2 separate regions of the Homo sapiens genome follow, and region 2 is linked to region 1. The links are contacts of gene promoters, found by promoter capture Hi-C in blood cells and fetal thymus (Javierre and others, 2016). All regions are on one chromosome and are shown on one strand. The core of a region is centred on a gene start or on the middle of the fragment in contact, and the rest is flanking DNA. Distances in the headings are between cores, read along the strand shown. Region 1 holds the start of NUP210L (nucleoporin 210 like). Region 2 overlaps GATAD2B (GATA zinc finger domain containing 2B).

Region 1 (5,090 bases), core at 2,540-5,039:
AGCAAATTGCATTTTAATTGGGGCAGTTAGAATGTTGATTTCCTAACAGCATTGTGAAGTTGACCATTGTGAAGTTTCTGTCCCTTTAGAAGAGATTATGGGTGAAGAAGGGAGGGGCCTGAGAGATTATAGTGAGAAAACTTGCGAGAATTTTGTTTTCCACCCTTATTTGCTGCTCTTTCACTTGGGCACTGACTGTAGGATATGTTCCCTTGCATGGATGTTTTTAACAATAAAAGGACTGACTTGACAAGTTGTTGTAACTGCTTCATCGGCAGGCCCAGGAATGGGTCCTTCTGACTGGGTGGAAAAAAGGGAAGTGAAAGAAAAGTTGTGGGATATGAATATGGGTCTGTGTTGCCATCACCTTCTCTGAGTTGAAGATTTGAGTATTTTCCTCACCTCTTTAGAGCAGTCAGAGTGGTTTGCTTGCTAGACAGATTAGATTCTCCTTAATGTTCAGCTGCTGATTTTCTTTCTGACTTTTGCGTCCTTTTTCTGGTTTTATGTTAATTTCAAGTAACTGTCACAAGCTAGTTCTGTTCAATAGCTCTGCAGCAATCTCAAGGTTTGCTTACAACTACTTGTTTCAGTAGTATTCTTGGCTTTGTTTTCTTTAGAGATTATTTGACTTAACTGTGAGCGCCCTTTTATTTATCCCATCAGTTATTACTTTGGCCTCTACTTTTTCGAAAAAACATGTAGTGCATGAGGATCTTCCTGTGCTCTTTATAATCTGAGATTCTGATGTTTCTATTGTTTGCAATGTTCAAACTCCGGTGAGCCATTTCAAGAGGGTATTGTTATGTGGGCAAAACCTAGAAAAGTGGATGGCTGATGGTTAAGGCTTGCTCTTTCATTGACTGAAAGCTGAAAGTGTTGGTTGGGTGTGGGAGGGAGAGGAAATGGCTGATAAGGGCCCTAACTCCCTCACCCAGGAAGTGCAGCAACACCTACAACTTCAGTAGGCAAGCCAAAGGCCCTACAAAACTGGGTGATGTAATAGCTCACTTCTGTGGCTGAGAAGGCAGCTGCTTTATCAGTCTGCAGCTTCTCTGCAACAGGAGCAAGTCTCAAAGAGCGGGTAGACCTTGAAATTTACTTCTAGTTCTTGTAACTTCTCTCCTTTACCCCCATTAGATAAACTGAAATGCACCAAAGAGGAGCACCTCTGTACACAAAGGATGCTGGACCAGACCCTGCTTGACCTGAATGAGATGTAGAACGCCCCAGTCCCACCCTGCTGCTGCTCCTCCCTCTGACCCAGACTCCGCCTGAGGCCAGCCTGCGGGAAGCTGACCTTTAACTGAGGGCTGATCTTTAACTGGAAGGCTGCTTTCTCCTTTCACCACCCCCTCCTTCCCTGTGTCTTTTTCGCCAAACTGTCTCTGCCTCTTCCCGGAGAATCCAGCTGGGCTAGAGGCTGAGCACCTTTGGAAACAACATTTAAGGGAATGTGAGCACAATGCATAATGTCTTTAAAAAGCATGTTGTGATGTACACATTTTGTAATTACCTTTTTTGTTGTTTTGTAGCAACCATTTGTAAAACATTCCAAATAATTCCACAGTCCTGAAGCAGCAATCGAATCCCTTTCTCACTTTTGGAAGGTGACTTTTCACCTTAATGCATATTCCCCTCTCCATAGAGGAGAGGAAAAGGTGTAGGCCTGCCTTACCGAGAGCCAAACAGAGCCCAGGGAGACTCCGCTGTGGGAAACCTCATTGTTCTGTACAAAGTACTAGCTAAACCAGAAAGGTGATTCCAGGAGGAGTTAGCCAAACAACAACAAAAACAAAAAATGTGCTGTTCAAGTTTTCAGCTTTAAGATATCTTTGGATAATGTTATTTCTATTTTTTATTTTTTTCATTAGAAGTTACCAAATTAAGATGGTAAGACCTCTGAGACCAAAATTTTGTCCCATCTCTACCCCCTCACAACTGCTTACAGAATGGATCATGTCCCCCTTATGTTGAGGTGACCACTTAATTGCTTTCCTGCCTCCTTGAAAGAAAGAAAGAAAGAAGACTGTGTTTTTGCCACTGATTTAGCCATGTGAAACTCATCTCATTACCCTTTTCTGGGTTTGAAGCTGCTGTCTCTAGAAGTGCCATCTCAATTGTGCTTTGTATCAGTCAGTGCTGGAGAAATCTTGAATAGCTTATGTACAAAACTTTTTAAATTTTATATTATTTTGAAACTTTGCTTTGGGTTTGTGGCACCCTGGCCACCCCATCTGGCTGTGACAGCCTCTGCAGTCCGTGGGCTGGCAGTTTGTTGATCTTTTAAGTTTCCTTCCCTACCCAGTCCCCATTTTCTGGTAAGGTTTCTAGGAGGTCTGTTAGGTGTACATCCTGCAGCTTATTGGCTTAAAATGTACTCTCCTTTTATGTGGTCTCTTTGGGGCCGATTGGGAGAAAGAGAAATCAATAGTGCAACTGTTTTGATACTGAATATTGACAAGTGTCTTTTTGAAATAAAGAACCAGTCCCTCCAACCCTCAGACCTATTTGACTTTTATTTATTAAAACTAAATGTGCTTTCTCCACAGAAGCTATGAGGTTTGGGTTAAAAATAGCATCTTTGTGGGTGGTAGCAACAGGATTTATTCTTTATTATTATTATTTTTGAGATGAAGTTTCATTCTTGTTGCCTGGGCTGGAGCGTAATGGCTCGATCTCGGCTCACTGCAACCTCCGCCTCCTGGTTCAAGAGATTCTCCTGCCTCAGCCTCCCGAGTAGCTGGGATTACAGGCACCTGCCACCATGCCCGGGTAATTTTTTATATTTTAAGTAGAGACAGGGCTTCACCATGTTGGCCAGGCTGGTCTCGAACTCCTGACCTTCAGGTGATCCACCTGCCTCAGCTTCCCAAAATGCTGGGATTACGGGCGTGAGCCACCGCACCCAGCTGGAGCAACAGGATTTAATATAGAGCAAATGTTTAGTTTTATCATCTGTAAAATGGAGATAAGTATTGTCAGAGTAAACATGAAGATTAGAAAGAACACTTAATGTGCTGGGCCTTTTATAGGTTAACACTGACATCTCAGGCTGAACTATATACATTTTCCTTCACAACCATATCAATCCTTATAAACTATGGATTTATGCTCCTTAAAACAATATATAATGCTGATCACTACTATAAATGCGTGGTTTTAACCAACTGTACTGAAACAGCTTTGAGTTTATATTCTGTTTGGATATTTGGAGAAAACAACAAGTGCTCTCAAGAGTATTTGCTTAGAGGCCGGCTGTGTGAGTGGATAACTTTGAAAGCTGCTTTTGAGACGCCAGTGTCTGGCATTTCCTGCATTCTGGCCTGGAGGCCGGACGTGAATCTGACTTCTAGTAAAAATACACGGTTCCCTTGACAAAGTCGAGCTGTTTATCCCAGAGACTGCACAATTTTCCGTTGATAGGCATGGACCAATGCTAACTGGAAATCATTGCAAAAAGTTTTTTTGTCGGGCGGAGGGTGTGGTGTTAAGATAAACAGTGTGCAACAGAAGAAATTAAAACTGGAAGAAATTAAAGGGTTTTTTTTAGACTTTTCTGCTTGTTCCTTACTGTTAAAAAGGTCTGCCATCCAGTATTTAGGAAAGCCCTTTAAGAGAGTTTGAGGTGTTTTAGCTGGGTTTGTGCCAAAAGTTTCCATTATATTGGCTTGCTGAAGGACTGCATTTAAAAATGCCCACACATCCGAGCAAGAAGCAGGTCCCATCCCCCTCTGCTGACGTCACGCCTGTGGATTGGCTGATGGAGCTGTGAGCCGGCTGTAGTTGAGCGGGAACCCGAGACCTGGCAGTCGCCATGACTGGCTGTCCGGCGTCATCAAGACGCCGAGGCTTCGGGCTCTTTTTCTTCTTGCGTCTACACCGCCTCCTGTTGTTGTTTCTGGTTTTGCGTGGGACCCTGGCCAACAAACTTAACGTGCCACAGGTGTTGCTACCCTTCGGCCGAGAGCCAGGCCGGGTGCCTTTCCTGCTGGAGGCCCAGCGGGGCTGCTACACTTGGTGAGGGGTGGTGGGTGACAAGGATATGCACCCTCACTACCATCCAGTAAGGGTGAGGGGGGTTCCCTCTGTAAGATCCCACAGGAATACCGTGTGGGGCCGCGTGAAGGGGCCTAGCCGGTAGGGGAGGAGAGTGTGGTGTCAGTGAAGGTGGCGAGGAGCAGACCCTTGGGTGTGGCGTGTCCTACTCATGTGGTATATCCTCCAGCTGTGTGACAATCTTCCAGACGTGTGAGGAATTCTCGGGATGTGGGACTGGCCTCTTCTCTGTGTGTGTTGGGAAGGGGTGGTCACTATGAGCAGCCGTCAGGGTAAAGGGAAGCCCTGTGTTGGAGGCCACAGGTACTGATGACTTCCAATGTAAACAACTAGAGTAAGAGGAAGTTCCCCATATCTGAGGAAATTTCTGTAGGAACAGGAAAACTTGGGGTGCGAGGGTCCCCACTAACTATAGATGAGCTATTCAATGTGAGAAGGACTTAAAACACAACAGCCAAGTATTGGGGGTTAACTAAGCACTTTACATGTGTTAACTCATTCGCTTTTTGCAGTCTTATGAAGTAAGTACTATTACTCCCATTTCACAGACGAGGAAAGTGAGGCCCAGAGACTATGAAGTGTAAACTTCTGGGAATATGAGAAGATTTATCGTGGGTGGAGATGAGATCTGTCTGTATTATCAAAATTGCCCCATTTATAAAAGGGTACCCGCTTGAAGTGTGAGGACAGGGGGTACACACAACTCCGGGATAATGACTTCCTGACTGAAGATGAAGAGACATGATTTTCTGGTGTGAGAGGACCCAATGATGGGTTATGTGGTTGCCTAAGGTATGAGAGAACCTAACCGAAGTGAGCTTCAGGATGCCAGTGCATTCATCCTAGATGGAGTAGATACCCCTTTGCCATCTCCTAGGAGAAGCAATGAGGTTTGTTCCGAGTATAAATTCACCTCTCATTTTATGAGGAAGTATAAGGAAAGTGAGCTTGTAAGATGATCCAGTGTGACGTGTGTGTTTCCTGACCGTGAGGGTGATGCAAGGCATCTTTCCAGCATTGAAAGCCATTTC
Region 2 (5,213 bases), core at 1,091-3,590, 340 kb after region 1:
GAGTAGCTGGGACTACAGGTGCGCGCCGCCATGCGCAGCTAATTTTTTATTTTTAGTAGAGACGGGGTTTCACCATGTCGGTCAGGCTGGTCTCGAACTCCTGACCCCAGGTGTTCCACCCGCCTCGGTCTCCCAAAGTGCTAGGATTACAGGAGTGAGCCACCGCACCCGGCCCCCCTTGGATTTTTTTAATTCAGCATAGAAGTTTTCTTAACTTTTGTTGGAAATAGCTTATTTTTTCCCTTTCTTGTCTAGTGAGCCAGAGCGAGGAAGGCTAACTCCCTCACCAGACATCATTGTTTTGTCTGACAATGAGGCTTCCAGTCCCCGTTCCAGTTCCAGAATGGAAGAAAGACTCAAAGCAGCCAACTTAGAGATGTTTAAGGTAAAAAGAAAGAAAAATTTCTTTCTTCTTGTTATGCTCCTTCTATTTTATTTAATTCCTCAAGAGATTTAGTTCTGTTTTTTGACTATTTACTCTTTGGATATAAATACCCATTGATGAAAACTTTATAGTAACTCTTGACTTCAAGGGCTTTCAAAAGGAACTATTAGAAGCAAGTGGAGACGACAGTTTGAAAAGCATATATGTAGGCCATTATACTCAGTGTTATTTATCTTTGGAAAATGAAAACAAAAGTTCATAATTAAGTCATATAAAGTAAACTCTTGGCTGTAAGGATACTTTCTGCACTCTAACCTAAGTAACTGAATATGAAGGGATTCCTAAGTTTTTATGTATATCTAGAGGAAATGTGGCTTTAAGAGATTTAGGAACATTATTTTAAAAGAAGACAATGTTTCTCTTTAGTCATTCTTCTTTTTGCCAGGAATCTGGCTGATTAGCATTTATACGTGGTCTGTCCTTTAATTCTGTAAGCATTTCTTTGAGTACCTACTGAATGCCAGGCACTGTGCCAGACTCCAGTGATACAAAGATAATCCTATTGCCACTTCTGCTTCTTGTGGAAGATGAAGGTTTCAGAGCTAAGAAGTAAAGATTGTCTCTTGCAGGAAGGAATTCTGGGTACCTTGCTGCCATAGCTGAAAGTCTTCTTGTTTCCTTAGGGGAAAGGCATTGAGGAGCGGCAGCAGCTTATCAAGCAGCTGAGGGATGAGCTACGATTGGAAGAAGCCCGACTGGTCCTGTTAAAGAAACTGAGACAGAGTCAGCTACAGAAAGAGAATGTGGTCCAGAAGGTAATGTGCCCTAGAAATAAGGGACTAAGGGAAAGGAAAGAAAAACTGGTTTGAGAGTAGGTTCCCCCAGGTAGGTTCAGTTGGGTGGCTCATTTCTTCTCTGGGTCCGTAGTTTTTTAGTCTGTAGTAGTAGTGATTTTTTTTTTAATCTTAGGCCTTAAGAAAACCTTGACTCCCAGCCAGGTGCGGTGGCTCACGCCTGTAACTCCAGCACTTTGGGAGGCCGAGGCGGGTGGATCACGAGGTCAGGAGATCGAGAGCATCCTGGCTAACATGGTGAAACCCCATCTCTACTAAAAATACAAAAAATTAGCCGGTCATGGTGGCGGGCGCCTGTAGTCCCAGCTACTCGGGAGGCTGAGGCAGGAGAATGGCGTGAACCCGGGAGGTGGAGCTTGCAGTGAGCCGAGATCAGGCCACTGCACTCCAGCCTGGGCGACAGAGCAAGACTCTGTCTCAAAAAAAAAAAAAAAAAAGAAAACCTTGACTCCCTTTTTCTGGTTTTTCCTCCTGATTGACAAGAACCTCACACTGACCAGGAATTTTTAAAGTCTAGAAATGTACCAAATTTCCACCTGTGATTATTGGCCACAGTCTTATTTTCTCTTCCCTCTCCCAGACTCCAGTTGTACAGAATGCAGCATCTATTGTTCAGCCATCTCCTGCCCATGTGGGACAGCAGGGCCTATCTAAGCTTCCCTCTCGGCCTGGGGCCCAAGGGGTTGAACCTCAAAATTTGAGAACATTACAGGTATGTGACCCATAGTGGGATCTTAGTGTTGGAGGGCCGTGTCTAATCCTGTCTCTGTTTTTGGGCTTTTGTGAAGATTATAGAAGAACCTGGCCATGATAGAGGTGTTATTACTACTGATTGTTCTGTTGGCCCATTATGGCATGATTTAGTCTTCAGTAGAAGGATGAGTAACTTTCATGTTTCCACTGTAGTTTTTCTTGTCTAGAGAATGCTTCCAGCTTCTCTAGAGAAGGGGTAGATAGTTTTCTATCTAACCCTATAGGATTAGATAGTTTATACCAAAAAAAGCCAAGGACTTCCCAGCCACTAATCAGGGTTTACAATGATGGTAGATTTATCCCATAGACCATTAAATGAAATTACCAAGTCTGGCTGTGTTCCTGTGTTTCTACTTAGCTATGTATTATAGGCAGTGTTTTCCCTTTTGCATTTTGTGCTGTATTATACACAGCGTACAACCTGTGATTAGTTCTTTTCCTCTTCTTCCCCTCCAGGGTCACAGTGTCATCCGTTCAGCTACCAATACCACCCTTCCACACATGTTGATGTCTCAACGTGTTATTGCACCAAACCCAGCCCAGCTACAGGGTCAGCGGGGCCCGCCTAAGCCTGGCCTTGTACGCACCACAACACCCAACATGAATCCCGCCATCAATTATCAACCGGTAAGAGAGAGCTGAGCCCTAATGTGGAAACAGAGAAATCCCTTTGTTTGCTTTGCTTGTCGAAAGGGCCATAGGTTTTAAGTTTTTATACATAGATAAACTCTAGGACAAAAATGGTTATTTTGGTAGGGATTTAATTGAGAGCAGTCCCAAAAGTAGAAGCTTTGAGGAATTATATTAAAATAGTAGTGGAGGAGAGAGGTTATACAGCAGAGCAGCAGTAAGCTAAAAATCTGCCTAGAAGAGAGTGATCTAGGGAATAAGAAGCACAAGGATGTGTGACAGAAAGCAAAATCTTATTTCTGTCTCTTTTTTGTTTGTTTGTTTGTTTGTTTTTTGAGCTGGAATCTCACTGTGTTGCCCAGGCTAGAGTGCAGTGGCATGATCTTGGCTCACTGCAACCTCTGCCTCCTGGGTTCAAGGAATTTCCAGCTAATTTTGTGTATTTTTCGTAGAGACAGAGTTTGACCATGTTGGCCAGGCTGGTCTCAAACTCCTCACCTCAAGTGATCTGCCTACCTCGGCCTCCCAAAGTGCTGAGATTATAGGCGTGAGCCACCACGCGTGGCCTTTATTTCTCTCTTAGCAATGTTAGCTCATGGTCATCATCATTCTCCTTTCCTATGTGTCAGAGTTCTTTTTCAATAAATAAGTTGACCACCTCCTATTTTTGGAGAAGCTAAGTAGTCCAAACCAGGATCAGACAGTGTCCTCTGCCAAGAACGTAAGAATTGGCCCTTTCTCCTGCATACCATGATTGACCGCATTCTCAATCTATTTCAGCAGTCAAGTTCTTCTGTTCCATGTCAGCGTACAACATCCTCTGCCATCTATATGAACCTTGCTTCTCATATCCAGCCAGGGACGGTGAACAGAGTGTCCTCGCCACTTCCTAGCCCCAGCGCCATGACTGATGCTGCCAACTCACAGGCTGCAGCCAAATTGGCTCTTCGCAAACAGCTGGAAAAGACACTCCTGGAGATCCCACCCCCTAAACCTCCTGCTCCCTTACTTCATTTCTTGCCTAGTGCAGCCAATAGCGAGTTCATCTACATGGTAGGCTTGGAAGAAGTCGTACAGAGTGTCATTGACAGCCAAGGTAAGGCTGTTTCTTCTAATCAATCTATTTAAGCAAGTGGTTGCCAAGCCTGATTGACATAGGCAGAGTATCAGAGGGTACTGTACAATATTAAATAACTTCTCCTTCCTGTTACCAAACCACCTCCCTCCCTTCTTTACAGCTGTTTGGGAGCAACATGTTAGAAGCGGAGTGTGTGTGTGTGTGTGTGTGTGTGTGTGTGTGTGTGTGTGTTTTGTTTGAGATGCAGTCTCGCTCTGTTGCCCAGGCTGGAGTGCAGTGGCACAATCTCAGTTCACTGCAACCTCTGCCTCCTGAGTTCAAGCAATTCTCCTGCCTCAGCCTCCCACGTAGCTGGGACTACAGGCACGTGGCACCACACCCGGTTAATTTTTGTATTTTTAGTAGAGACGGGGTTTCATCATGTTGGCCAGGCTGGTCTCGAACTCCTGACATCAGGTGATCTGCCCACCTCGGCTTCCTAAAGTGCTAGGATTACAGGCATGAGCCACTGTACCCCGTCAGCCGGCCGGGGCCAGCCTGCCTATGTATCTATCTATCTATCTAATCTATCATCTATCTAATCTATCTATTCTATTCTATCTAATCTATCATCTATCTTTCGGCTTGTTTTTTTTTCCCTTCAGCAGGTCAGCTATCATTGAGGCTTGATATTTTTATTTGGATTTTATCTATCTTGTGTGTTTTTTGTAGGACAGTAAGTTCTCACTTAACATCATCAATAGTTTCTTAGAAACTGTGACTTTAAGTGAAACAACTACGGTGAAGGGGGTCCTCAAATAACATCATTTTATTATAACATTAGTAAAAAAAAAAAGATTGTTTTTGTTGTATGTTGTTTCACTTAAATCATAGTCTCTGAGAACCTGTCAACAACATTGAGGACTGACTGTATTTTGTTTAGTTCTTTTAAATGGTGGCTAGCATGATGCTTGCATAATTTGATAAATAGAACTTCTCTTTTCTTTTTTTTTTTTTTGTTTTTTTTTTTTGTTTTTTTGAGACAGGGTCTGACCCTGTTGTCCAGGCTTGAGTGCAGTGGTGTGATCTCAGCTCTCTGCAGCCTTGACCTCCCAGGCTCAAGCCATCCTCCCATTTCAGCCTCCTGAGTAACTGGGACCACTGGTATGCACCACCATGCCAGTTTTTTTCTTTGTTGGTTTTTTTTTTTTTTTTTTTTTTTTTTTTTTTGAGACAGAGTCTTACTCTGTCACCCAGGCTGGAGTACAGTGGCATGATCTTAGCTGGCTGACTACCTCTGCCTCTTGGTTTCAAGCAATTCTTTTTTTTTTTTTGAGATGGAATCTTGCTCTGTTGCCCAGGCTAGAGAGTGCAATGGCATGATCTCAGCTCACTGCAACCTCCACCTCCTGGGTTCAAGCAATATTCCTGCCTCAGCCTCCTGAGTAGCTGGGATTACAGGTGCCTGCCACCACACCTGGCCAATTTTTGTGTTTTTCTTAGAGACGGGGTTTCACAATGTTGGTCAGGCTGG

Evidence for each region. The method cuts DNA at HindIII sites, captures the fragments that hold promoters and counts their contacts. A CHiCAGO score of 5 or more calls a contact.
Region 2: a fragment that was not itself captured here is called in contact with the fragment with the promoter of NUP210L in region 1 in 1 of 17 cell types (M1 macrophages); the score reaches 5.7 in M1 macrophages.

What each region holds. Positions count from the first base shown.
Region 1 is chr1:154,153,772-154,158,861 of GRCh38, reverse strand. It overlaps NUP210L (nucleoporin 210 like), which reads left to right and starts at 3,789. Exons shown (of 40, transcript NM_207308.3): 1 at 3,789-4,020. The coding sequence starts at 3,818. It also overlaps a transcript of TPM3 not described here. RefSeq lists a silencer at 2,671-2,848 and enhancers at 3,455-3,955, 3,956-4,456. The HindIII fragment of the contact is 10,459 bases long and covers 1-5,090 here.
Region 2 is chr1:153,814,778-153,819,990 of GRCh38, reverse strand. GATAD2B (GATA zinc finger domain containing 2B) reads left to right here. Exons shown (of 11, transcript NM_020699.4): 3 at 256-385; 4 at 1,069-1,200; 5 at 1,820-1,951; 6 at 2,449-2,619; 7 at 3,403-3,718. Among named protein-coding and RNA genes, the nearest start is that of SLC27A3, 42 kb to the right of the region's middle. The HindIII fragment of the contact is 887 bases long and covers 1,897-2,783 here.